3 separate regions of the Homo sapiens genome follow, and regions 1 and 3 are each linked to region 2. Evidence: promoter capture Hi-C in 16 types of primary human blood cells and fetal thymus (Javierre and others, 2016). All regions are on one chromosome and are shown on one strand. Each heading gives the region's core, a stretch centred on a gene start or on the middle of the fragment in contact. The rest is flanking DNA. Distances are from core to core; before and after follow the strand shown.

Region 1 (3,115 bases), core at 511-3,010, 310 kb after region 2:
ATGGTACTGGGATAATGGGGTAGTCTTTTTTTTTTTAAAAAAAGATAAAATTAGATCTATTGTTCACAGCATATATAAGAATAAACTCAAATGGATCATGAATTTAAGTGTAAAAAATGAAAACATGTAAGTACTAGGGGGAAAAAGTCCGTGGGTGAATTCCTCTTAACCTCAGTGTAAGGAAAGGATTTGAAAGCATCACTCAGAATCCAGAAGCAATGAAATAAAATTCTGGCAAATTGGACATGGCAAACCAAACCAAACCAAACCAGACAAAACAAAAAACCCAAACCACAGAAACCAAAGTAACTGAAAAATTGAGAGAAAATATTTGTAACACATACCACAGACAAAGGGCTAATCTCCCTTATATATACAGAACTCTTAAAAATTGAGGGACAGAGGATGAAATACTCCACAGAAAAAAGAGAAAAGACTTGGACAATTCACACACACATTAAAATGGTCCTCAAACATATGCCAGTTACTGGGACAGTGTTGTGGGGACAAAAATAAGTAGACACAGTTCCTTCCCCCAAGGAGTTTCCAGTTCACTGGGAAAGTCACAGAAACTAACTTGAATGGGGACAGAGTATGGTTAAATTTCAAGGGGTAGGCTGGGTGCGGTGGCTCATGCCTATAATCCAAGCACTTTGGAAGCTGAACCAGGAGGATCACTTGAGCCCAGGAGTTTGAGACCAGCCTGGGCAACATGATAAGACCGCATCTCTACAAAAAATTAAAAAACTAGCCAGGTGTGGTAGTGCGTGTCTCTAGTTCCAGCTACTTGTGGGGGGGTGAGGTGGGAGGATCACTTGACCCAGGGAGGTTGAGGCTGTAGTGAGCCATGATCGTGCCACTGCACTCCAGCCTGGATGACAGAGGGAGACCCTGTCTCAAAAAATAAATAAAAACGGGTGGGGTTGGATTTCACCTGAGCCTGCTGGAGGGCAGGGAGGAGCAGTTGGTGGGGTGGAATGTCAGGGAGTGAACAATCTAAGAGGCAGGTGAAAGTGGTTCTGAGCAGAGAGGACCATTGGGGGATGAGGCAGCTGTTGGAGAGGGATGGGTCAAGGGATGGAGGGTAGCACTGTGAGCTGAAATAGGTGAATTGGGAGGGATGCTGGCTAGAGAAGAGGTAAGTCCAGCACTTACTGTGCTTGGGGCTGTGAGAGGCACCTGAGGACAGATGCCTGTCCTCCAGGATCCCACAGTCCTGGGTGGAAACCAGCAGGGCCTTGATGAACTAGACTTCCGGAGAGAATGAACTCAGTACTGTAGTGGAGGGACCAAGGGCAAGCTGCCCAAGGCTCAGACTAGAGTTGGGGCTGGTTGGGTTTCAGGTGAAGACAGATGTCCATGTGGATCTAGCCCACTGGTCTCTGGACATGTGGTTATGTTGGTCAAAGGAGAAGACCAAGGCTCAGAACAAAGACTTGAGATTTGCCCCCTCAACTGTCAGAGAAGGAGTTATGGAGGGAGATCGTGGCCTGAGGGTCATGGAGTGGCCAGGGGAGAGTCTTGGTCAGTCACACATTGGAGGCCATGAGAAAGAGTAGTTAGGAGAGGGGTGCTTGAGCCAGTAATCAGATTCAAGTCCCTGTTATGCTCATGTGCCAGCTCTGCCCTTGAGTTTTCTCATCTTTCAATTGGGGAATGGGGCCGGGTGCGGTGGCTCACACCTATAATCCCAGCATTTTGGGAGGCCAAGGCGGGTGGATCATGAGGTCAGGAGTTTGAGACCAGCCTGGCCAATGTGGTGAAACCCCATCTCTACTAAAAATACAAAAATTAGCCAGGCATGGTGGCGGGCGCCTGTAATCCTTGGGAGGCTGAGGCAGGAGAATCGCTTGAAACCAGAAGGTGGGGAGGTTGCAGTGAGCCAAGATCATGCCACTGCACTCCAGCCTGGGTAACAAGAGCAAAACTCTGTCTCAAAAAATAAATAAATAAATAAAAATTTAGAGAATGAATCAAGGCATGACTGTAGGACCAAACGAGTTCACATATGCAAAGTGTTTTAATATGGTCAAAGCATTCAATAAATGCTGCTGTTAATTAGGAGGCAAGAAGAGATTGAAGGGAAATCTCAAGGGGCTCCAGAGACTACTACGATGGTGCAAAGTCACAGAAGCCCTGGGAAAAGCAGGTAGAATGGAGTTGCCATGACATTGAGCCTCACCTAGATGCCAGGTAGGTAACACGCATTATCACAGGTGAGTCTCACTGTAATCTCACAAGGGAATTTCTATGGTCATCCCCACCCCACAGTGTAACAAGCTCAAGGTCCCAAGAGTATGACCTACGTTTCCTGTTCTGGACCTTAAGTTTTATTTATTTATTAATTATTTTACTTTTTTTGAGATGAGGTCTTGCTCTGTCACACAGCCCAAAGTGCAGTGGCACGATCCTGACTTACTGCAACCTCCGCCTTCCAGGCTCAAGCAATCTTTCTACCTCAGCCCCCCAAGTATCTGTGAGTACAGGCATGTGCCACCACACTCGGATATATATATATATATATATATATATATATTTGTGTGTGTGGAGATAGGGTTTCACTAGGTTGCCCAGGCTGGTCTCAAACCCCTGGTCTCAAGTGATCCGCCTGCCTCGGCCTCCCAAACTGTTGGGATTCCAGGCGTGAGCCACCGTGCCCAGCCTGGACCTTAAGAATGAAATCATCCTTGGGTTAAAGGCTGGTCTCCCTTAGAGATGGTTGTTTGCAGGTCACCTTCCAGGGGCTAATACTCTGGCAAATGCTGGTGACCTTGAGATGAATGAGCCTTGATCCGTGTACTCAGTGAGCTCTCAGGATGAGGGTTCCTGTAGCCTCTCTCTTCATTGCATCATCTCCAAAACCTGACAGGACTGATGCTGGAAGGTCTTTCCAAGGCCCAGACTCCTCTCCTGGCTCAAACACTTTCCATGGCTCTCTGTGGCCTCCAGCCCAGGGTCTGAATTGGTTCTACCTGGCCAAGTGCTCTGCCTGCTTTTAGGGTCTGGTCTGTGCCGCGAGCCCCTGTCCCATCCCAGCTTTATCTCCCACAACTTCCCAGCCCTTACCTATGCCCTGGTCATGTGGATCCTTTCCTGTATATCTATACCCTTCATT
Region 2 (2,764 bases), core at 157-2,656:
GAGTCTCCCTCTGTCACCCAGACTGCAGTGCAGTGGCGCGATATCTCGGCTCACTGCAACCTCCACCTCCCAAGTTCAAGTGATTCTCCTGCCTCAGCCTCCTGAGTAGCTGGGCCTACAGGCTCGTGCCCCCACACTGCCTAATTTTTGTATTTTTAGTAGAGATGGGGTTTTGCCATGTTGGCCAGGCTGGGTTCAAACTCCTGACCTCAGGTGATCTGCCCGTCTTGGCCTCCCAAAGTGCTGAATTACAGGCATGAGCCACTGCACCCAGCCAGAAACACTTGTTCTAAACCACATTTTTTTCTTATCACTGCTTGCCTGCCCTTGTTAAAATTTGCTTCTGTCTCCATATTGGTGCCTATTGCTTATATACCAGTTTTCTTGTTGGGAGAAATTACCCAGTAAGCACTGAAATGGGAATCCAACTACTTTGAGTACCTTTCCTGAAAATAATTTCAAGGTGGAAGGAAAATCCAGGAGGTGGATGACCTAAGAGTTTTCTCCCACCTTAAACCAGACTCACAGTGACAAATCGTTTTTAATGCATTAAAATGAGGCCAAGAAATGAAGATTACTGGAGATTGGAATTTTGGTATATACAAAGCTAACTTGTGAAGGGAGAAAGTAGGTCAGAAAGGGGTCGGAACCTGCAAGAGCCAAATTTGGTCCTGGCATTTAAAATATCTCCAAATGGATACATATCTCAGATGGGGGACACAGACTGCTCTGTTAAATCTAAAAGTCTTGTACTAAGCCTGCAATTATTCTAGACATACAGTTAGTCTGAATGAGGCAAACTGAAGCAATGGATAATAGGGACAAAGGGTCCTGCTTTGTCACCCAGGCTGGAGTGCAGTGGCACGATCTCGTCTCACTGCAACCTCCGCCTCCCGGGTTCAAGCGATTCTCCTGCCTCCACCTCCCAAGTGGCTGGGATTACAGGCGTGCGCCACCCTGCCCAGCTCATTTTTTTGTATTTTTGGTATAGACAGGGTTTCGCTATGTTGGTCAGGCTGGTCTCGGACTCCTGGCCTCAAGTAATCTGCCTGCCTTGGCTTCCCAAAGTACTGGAATTACAGTTCTATGAAAGTGAAGAAATTACTGTTTTTTGCTGTCTAATTCCTTACAAGTTGCTTGAAGATTCAACACCCTATGTATGAGGGGAAGCCCTAAAAATCTGGAAGTCTAGAAGCCTTCCTAGGAAAATTTAGGAGGAATCGACAGAGTACTTTTCGAGAAACCGATTGGATCTTCAATTTAGAATTTTGGAATTATAATGGCTACTATGGATCCCCACTATACGTTAGGCACTTTGTATGCACTAAATCTTCATCATAACTACTTGGCAGATTTTAATCTCTTTCTCACAGCTTAAGAACGAAAGGCTTAGATCAAGTAACTTGCACAGGGGTATAGATCTAAAGAAGGGCAGAGGGGAGATCTGGAAACAGGCTGGCTGACTCCAAATTTGGCCCATTGGCAACAAAACTACTATCACTGCGAGAACGAAAAGAAAAACAAAACAAAGAAAAGAAAAGAAGTTAACTTTTAAAAGTTTTTTTCTGAATCAGCCTTGCAAATAAATCATAAACCGGGTCACAGGCCATATTACTGCTTGAAGCAGAGCACCGAATTCTGATAATTTTGCTCCAGGAGGAGGCAAGGGAATTAAAACATGGCTGGGAGGTGAGCGGACGTTTTGTACGAGGTTGGGTTGAATTTGCTTAAGAAGGTCGCACGCATCTCTGATAAGGAAGAGAAAAGGCCTTGCCAAGGTGAGTATTCTCAACAGTTCGTTCAACGGCTTGGCAGGTGAGGGAAGTTACAAGAGCCACCCTGGCGGAGGGCAGCGTCTTGTCACAATTGACAGGTGCCGGCGCCACCTGCTTCTTTCTCCCGCGGGTTTCTTAGAGGGCGGGGAAAGCAGCAAATACCCCTCCTTGCGCTCTAGTCCTCCAAGCCTAGGGCGGCGGGCAGTGGAGGCCCAGCGCTCTGCGGTGGTGCCAGGTTCCGCCACGCGGGCCGCGGCCGGAATGCGGCTCGGTGGCGCCCGGGCCACTCGGCGCCGGCAGCTGCTTAGGTCCAGCGGGGCTGCGGGAGGGGCGGAGCTGGCGAGCCGCCGGAGGGGCGGAGCCGGCGGGCCGCGGGGGGCGGGGCCACCGGTTGCTCGCGCGCGCCGCCGAGGCTCCGCACGCCGTCGCGCGGGCCGGGCGTCTCTGTGAATCCTGGGTCGCCGATGGGGGAGGTGGAGCCGGGGCCCGCGGGCCCGCTGGAGCCCCCGGAGCCGCCCGAAGCGCCCGCGAGCCGCCGGCCGGGAGGGATCCGGGTCCTGAAGGTGAGGAGGCGGATGGACCAGCGAGCGAGCGAGCGGGCGAGCGGGCAAGCGGACTAGGGAGGGAACGAGGGAGGCTAGAGGCCGCTGCCGCCCCCGCCCCGCGCAGTGGCTGAGGCAGTCGGCGGCCCCCGCCCGGCGTCAGTCAGTCGGCCGCCCCACACCCGGCTGGGGACGCCGAGGCCTCCGCGCCGCGCCCGCGTCCAGGCCTCGGCGCCTCGGTACCCCGCTGCTGCCCATCCCTGGCCGCGCGCCGCCCGCCTCGCAGGCCCACGCCTTTGGGCTGCGGGTAGCCGCCGCCCACCCGGACCCTTCGCCGCCCCTGCTTGCCTCGCCGCGCTCGGGGCCCGGAGGCCGGCTCCGGAGGGCTCGGAGGGCCGCCGGTTCCTGGCACAGGAGCGGGGCTGGAAGTACGCAGGGCTTTCTCCC
Region 3 (3,059 bases), core at 405-2,904, 260 kb before region 2:
TCACTGAGTCACGCCTATAATCCCAGCATTTGGGAGGCCAAGGTGAGAGGATCACTTGAGCCCAGGAGTTTTAGACCAGACTGGGCAACGTAGCAAGACCTTTCTCTACTAAAGTTCAAAAAAATTAGCCAGGCACAGTGGCTCACGCCTGTAATTCCAGCACTTTGGGAGGCCGAGGTGGAGGATCACGTAAGCCCGAGTTTGAGACCAGCTTAGGCAACTTTATGAGACCTTTTCTCTATTAAACTTCAAAAAAAAATTAGCCAGGTGTGGTGGCATGTGCCTGTAGTCCCAGCTACTTGGGGGTGGCGGGGCAGGGGCTGAGGTGGGAGGGTTGCTTGAGCCTGGGAGGTCCAGACTGCAGTGAGCCATGATTGTGCCACTGTATACTGTAGGCTGGGCAACAGAACAAAACTCTCTCTCAAAAAAAGGCAAAGTCCCTTTGACAGTATTGACTGAAGAAAATAATCCTGCTTCCCTCATGCTTTTTTTTCCCTAAACTCAAACGAGCCCTGTTTATATGCAGTTGAACATTTCCCTGCTAAAACAATCCTGTTCACTCTGGATCTGCTTGCAATGGTAATGGAAATTCAGTGTTCTATTTGGGGGAGAAACTGACCTACAGGAGTTTAAACAAAGATTTTTGTTTTTGTTTTTGTTTTTCTTGGAAATCCTGAAGTACAGAATATCTAAAAGGATCTATAATAAATTATTAGAAATATTAAGAGGATTTAGCAATGTCAGCATTTAATCAAGATTTCTTGAATATGTGGTTGAATTAGGCTGTGAGTGAGGTATTCTCCAGAAATGGACCATGTAGTTGGCATTAATGGTGATTGTCTCAGGGTTGGACTTTGAGTTCAAGTGCAGTAGCCACTTAAGCTTTGGGACCGCGGCCATTTGCTCAGTCTGTTTCTTAGGGCAGGGAGGTTTTCTGCTTCCCACCTCTTGCTATGAGTCATTTTAAGTCATTACCTCTTGAATATGGACTCTTTTTTTGAGACAGATTCTCGATCTGTCGCCCAGGCTGGAGTGCAGTGGCGCAATCTCGGCTCACTGCAACCTCTGCCTCCCGGGTTCAAGAGATTCTCCTGCCTCAGCCTCCCGAGTAGCTGGGACTACAGGTGTACACCACCAAGCCTGGTTAATTTTTGTATTTTTAGTAGAGACAGGGTTTTGCTATGTAGGCCAGGTTGCTCTTGAACTCCTGACCTCAAGTGATCTGCCTGCCTTAGCCTCCCAAGTGCTGGGATGACAGGCGTGAGCCATCACGCCCAGCCTTAAATACGAATACTTGAATGGAGGGAAACACACACACAGGGAAGCCTGAGAGGAAAACATACTTCTGAATAGAAAAGTTTGGTTTTGGCTTTTTAATTTCCAAGTTTCCCTCATCTTCATGGCCTTAACACTTAAAGTTACTGCTATAAATCTTATTTCCAGACTCATTTGCCCTTGGAGCAATCATTATATAATCTCGTTATTCATTTTCTCTATCGTATGGAAGAAGTAGAAATAAATTCTGTCCACTCGCAGAAAAGCTTCTGAAAGTAATCACTGTTTTAGAGAGCTGTGGTTCATAGGGTTTATAAAGTTACCCAAGGTCAACTTGGATGAAAATAATCTCCCTGACTACTACAGTACAGTAATTTTGTATGAGTAATTTTGACAACTTCTTTGTTCCCAATAGGTCATAGATGAGATAGCAGGGAACTTCAGCAGAGCAGTTCATGGTTTGCAAGCTCTTAACAAACTACAGGAAGCTTGTGAGTTCCTCCAGAAACTAACAGCCTTAACCCCAAGATTTTCTAAGCCAGCTCAGGTAAGTGGAGGGTGACTGGGAGGGAAGAAGGTAGGAGAGAGGGAAAAGCGGAAAACAGAAAAAGAGAATCTGAGGCTGGGTGCGGTGGCTCACGCCTGTAATCCCAGCACTTTAGAAGGCCGAGGCGGGCGGATCACATGAGGCCAGGAGTTCAAGACCTGACTGGGCAACATGGCAAAACCCGTCTCTACTGAAAAAACAAAAATTAGCTGGGCTCGGTGGCGGGCACCTGTAATCTCAGCTACTTGGAAGGCTGAGGCACAATAATCACTTGAACCCAGGAGGCAGAGGCAATGAGCCAAGATCCCGCCACTCCACTCCAGCCTGGGTGGCTGAGAGACTGTGTCTCCAAAAAAAAAAAAAAAAAAAAAAGAAAGAGAATCTGGAGATTGTGCCTTATGCCAAGCTTAGCATTATAAAGACTGTATTTAAATTTTAGCAAGCATATTTTTTTACCTTTAAATCTGGAAAGTTATGAATTAAATTGATCAGTAGTGACATTGTTGGATATACTGTGTTTATGTTCATTTGTTGATTAATCAGCTGGTACTGCCTTGCTGATGCATTTGTTAGAAGTCTGTCGGCATTCAGTGGAACACATTGGCTCCCACCTGTAGTCCCAGCACTTTGGGAGGCTGAATCAGGCGGATAGCTTGAGCCCAGGAGTTCGAGACCAGCCTGGGCAACATGGTGAAACCCTGTCTCTATCAAAAATACAAAACTTAACTGGGTGTGGTGGTGCTCACCTGTAGTTGCAGCTACTTGGGAGGCTGAGATGGGAGGATGGTTTGAGCCCGGAAGGTGGAGGTTGCAGTGAGCCAAGACTCTGCCACTGCACTCCAGCCTGGGTGACAGAGCCACACTCTGTCTGAAATTAAAAAGACAAAAAACTCAGCATTGGTCTTTTCTTCATTCCTTTTTTTAGTCTGATGGTATTAATTGGATATTTGGTCTACTCACCACTCAAAAAGAATTGTCAGTTTGTCAGAATAACATGAAATATGAATCCTCCCTTATAGGTTATATGAAATAATATATTCTCCTTCCCTGTCAAATTGTAACTTTTTTTTTATAAAATGCATTTGAAATGTATAACGAATATTAAGCTGCTAATAAGAAGTATGCAAATTGAAAATAATCATGTGCTAGGTGTGTGGCTCATGTCTGTAATCTAAACACTTTGGGAGGCCAAGACAGGAGGATCTCTTGGGGCCAGGTGTTTGAGACCAGCCTGGGC

What was found. The method cuts DNA at HindIII sites, captures the fragments that hold promoters and counts their contacts. A CHiCAGO score of 5 or more calls a contact.
Region 1: a fragment that was not itself captured here is called in contact with the fragment with the promoter of PHLPP2 in region 2 in 2 of 17 cell types (naive B cells and total B cells); the score reaches 6.1 in naive B cells.
Region 3: a fragment that was not itself captured here is called in contact with the fragment with the promoter of PHLPP2 in region 2 in 5 of 17 cell types (total CD8 T cells, total CD4 T cells, activated CD4 T cells and 2 more); the score reaches 8.0 in total CD8 T cells.

The regions. Positions count from the first base shown.
Region 1 is chr16:71,413,943-71,417,057 of GRCh38, reverse strand. LINC02136 (long intergenic non-protein coding RNA 2136) reads left to right here. Exons shown (of 3, transcript NR_146574.1): 2 at 2,063-2,193. Among named protein-coding and RNA genes, the nearest start is that of LINC02136, 11 kb to the left of the region's middle. The HindIII fragment of the contact is 4,748 bases long and covers 1-3,115 here.
Region 2 is chr16:71,723,343-71,726,106 of GRCh38, reverse strand. It overlaps PHLPP2 (PH domain and leucine rich repeat protein phosphatase 2), which reads left to right and starts at 1,406. Exons shown (of 19, transcript NM_015020.3): 1 at 1,406-1,778. RefSeq lists a silencer at 1,833-2,764 and an enhancer at 2,568-2,764. The HindIII fragment of the contact is 20,650 bases long and covers 1-2,764 here.
Region 3 is chr16:71,982,799-71,985,857 of GRCh38, reverse strand. PKD1L3 (polycystin 1 like 3, transient receptor potential channel interacting) reads left to right here. Exons shown (of 30, transcript NM_181536.2): 6 at 1,691-1,822. Among named protein-coding and RNA genes, the nearest start is that of PKD1L3, 16 kb to the left of the region's middle. The HindIII fragment of the contact is 222 bases long and covers 1,544-1,765 here.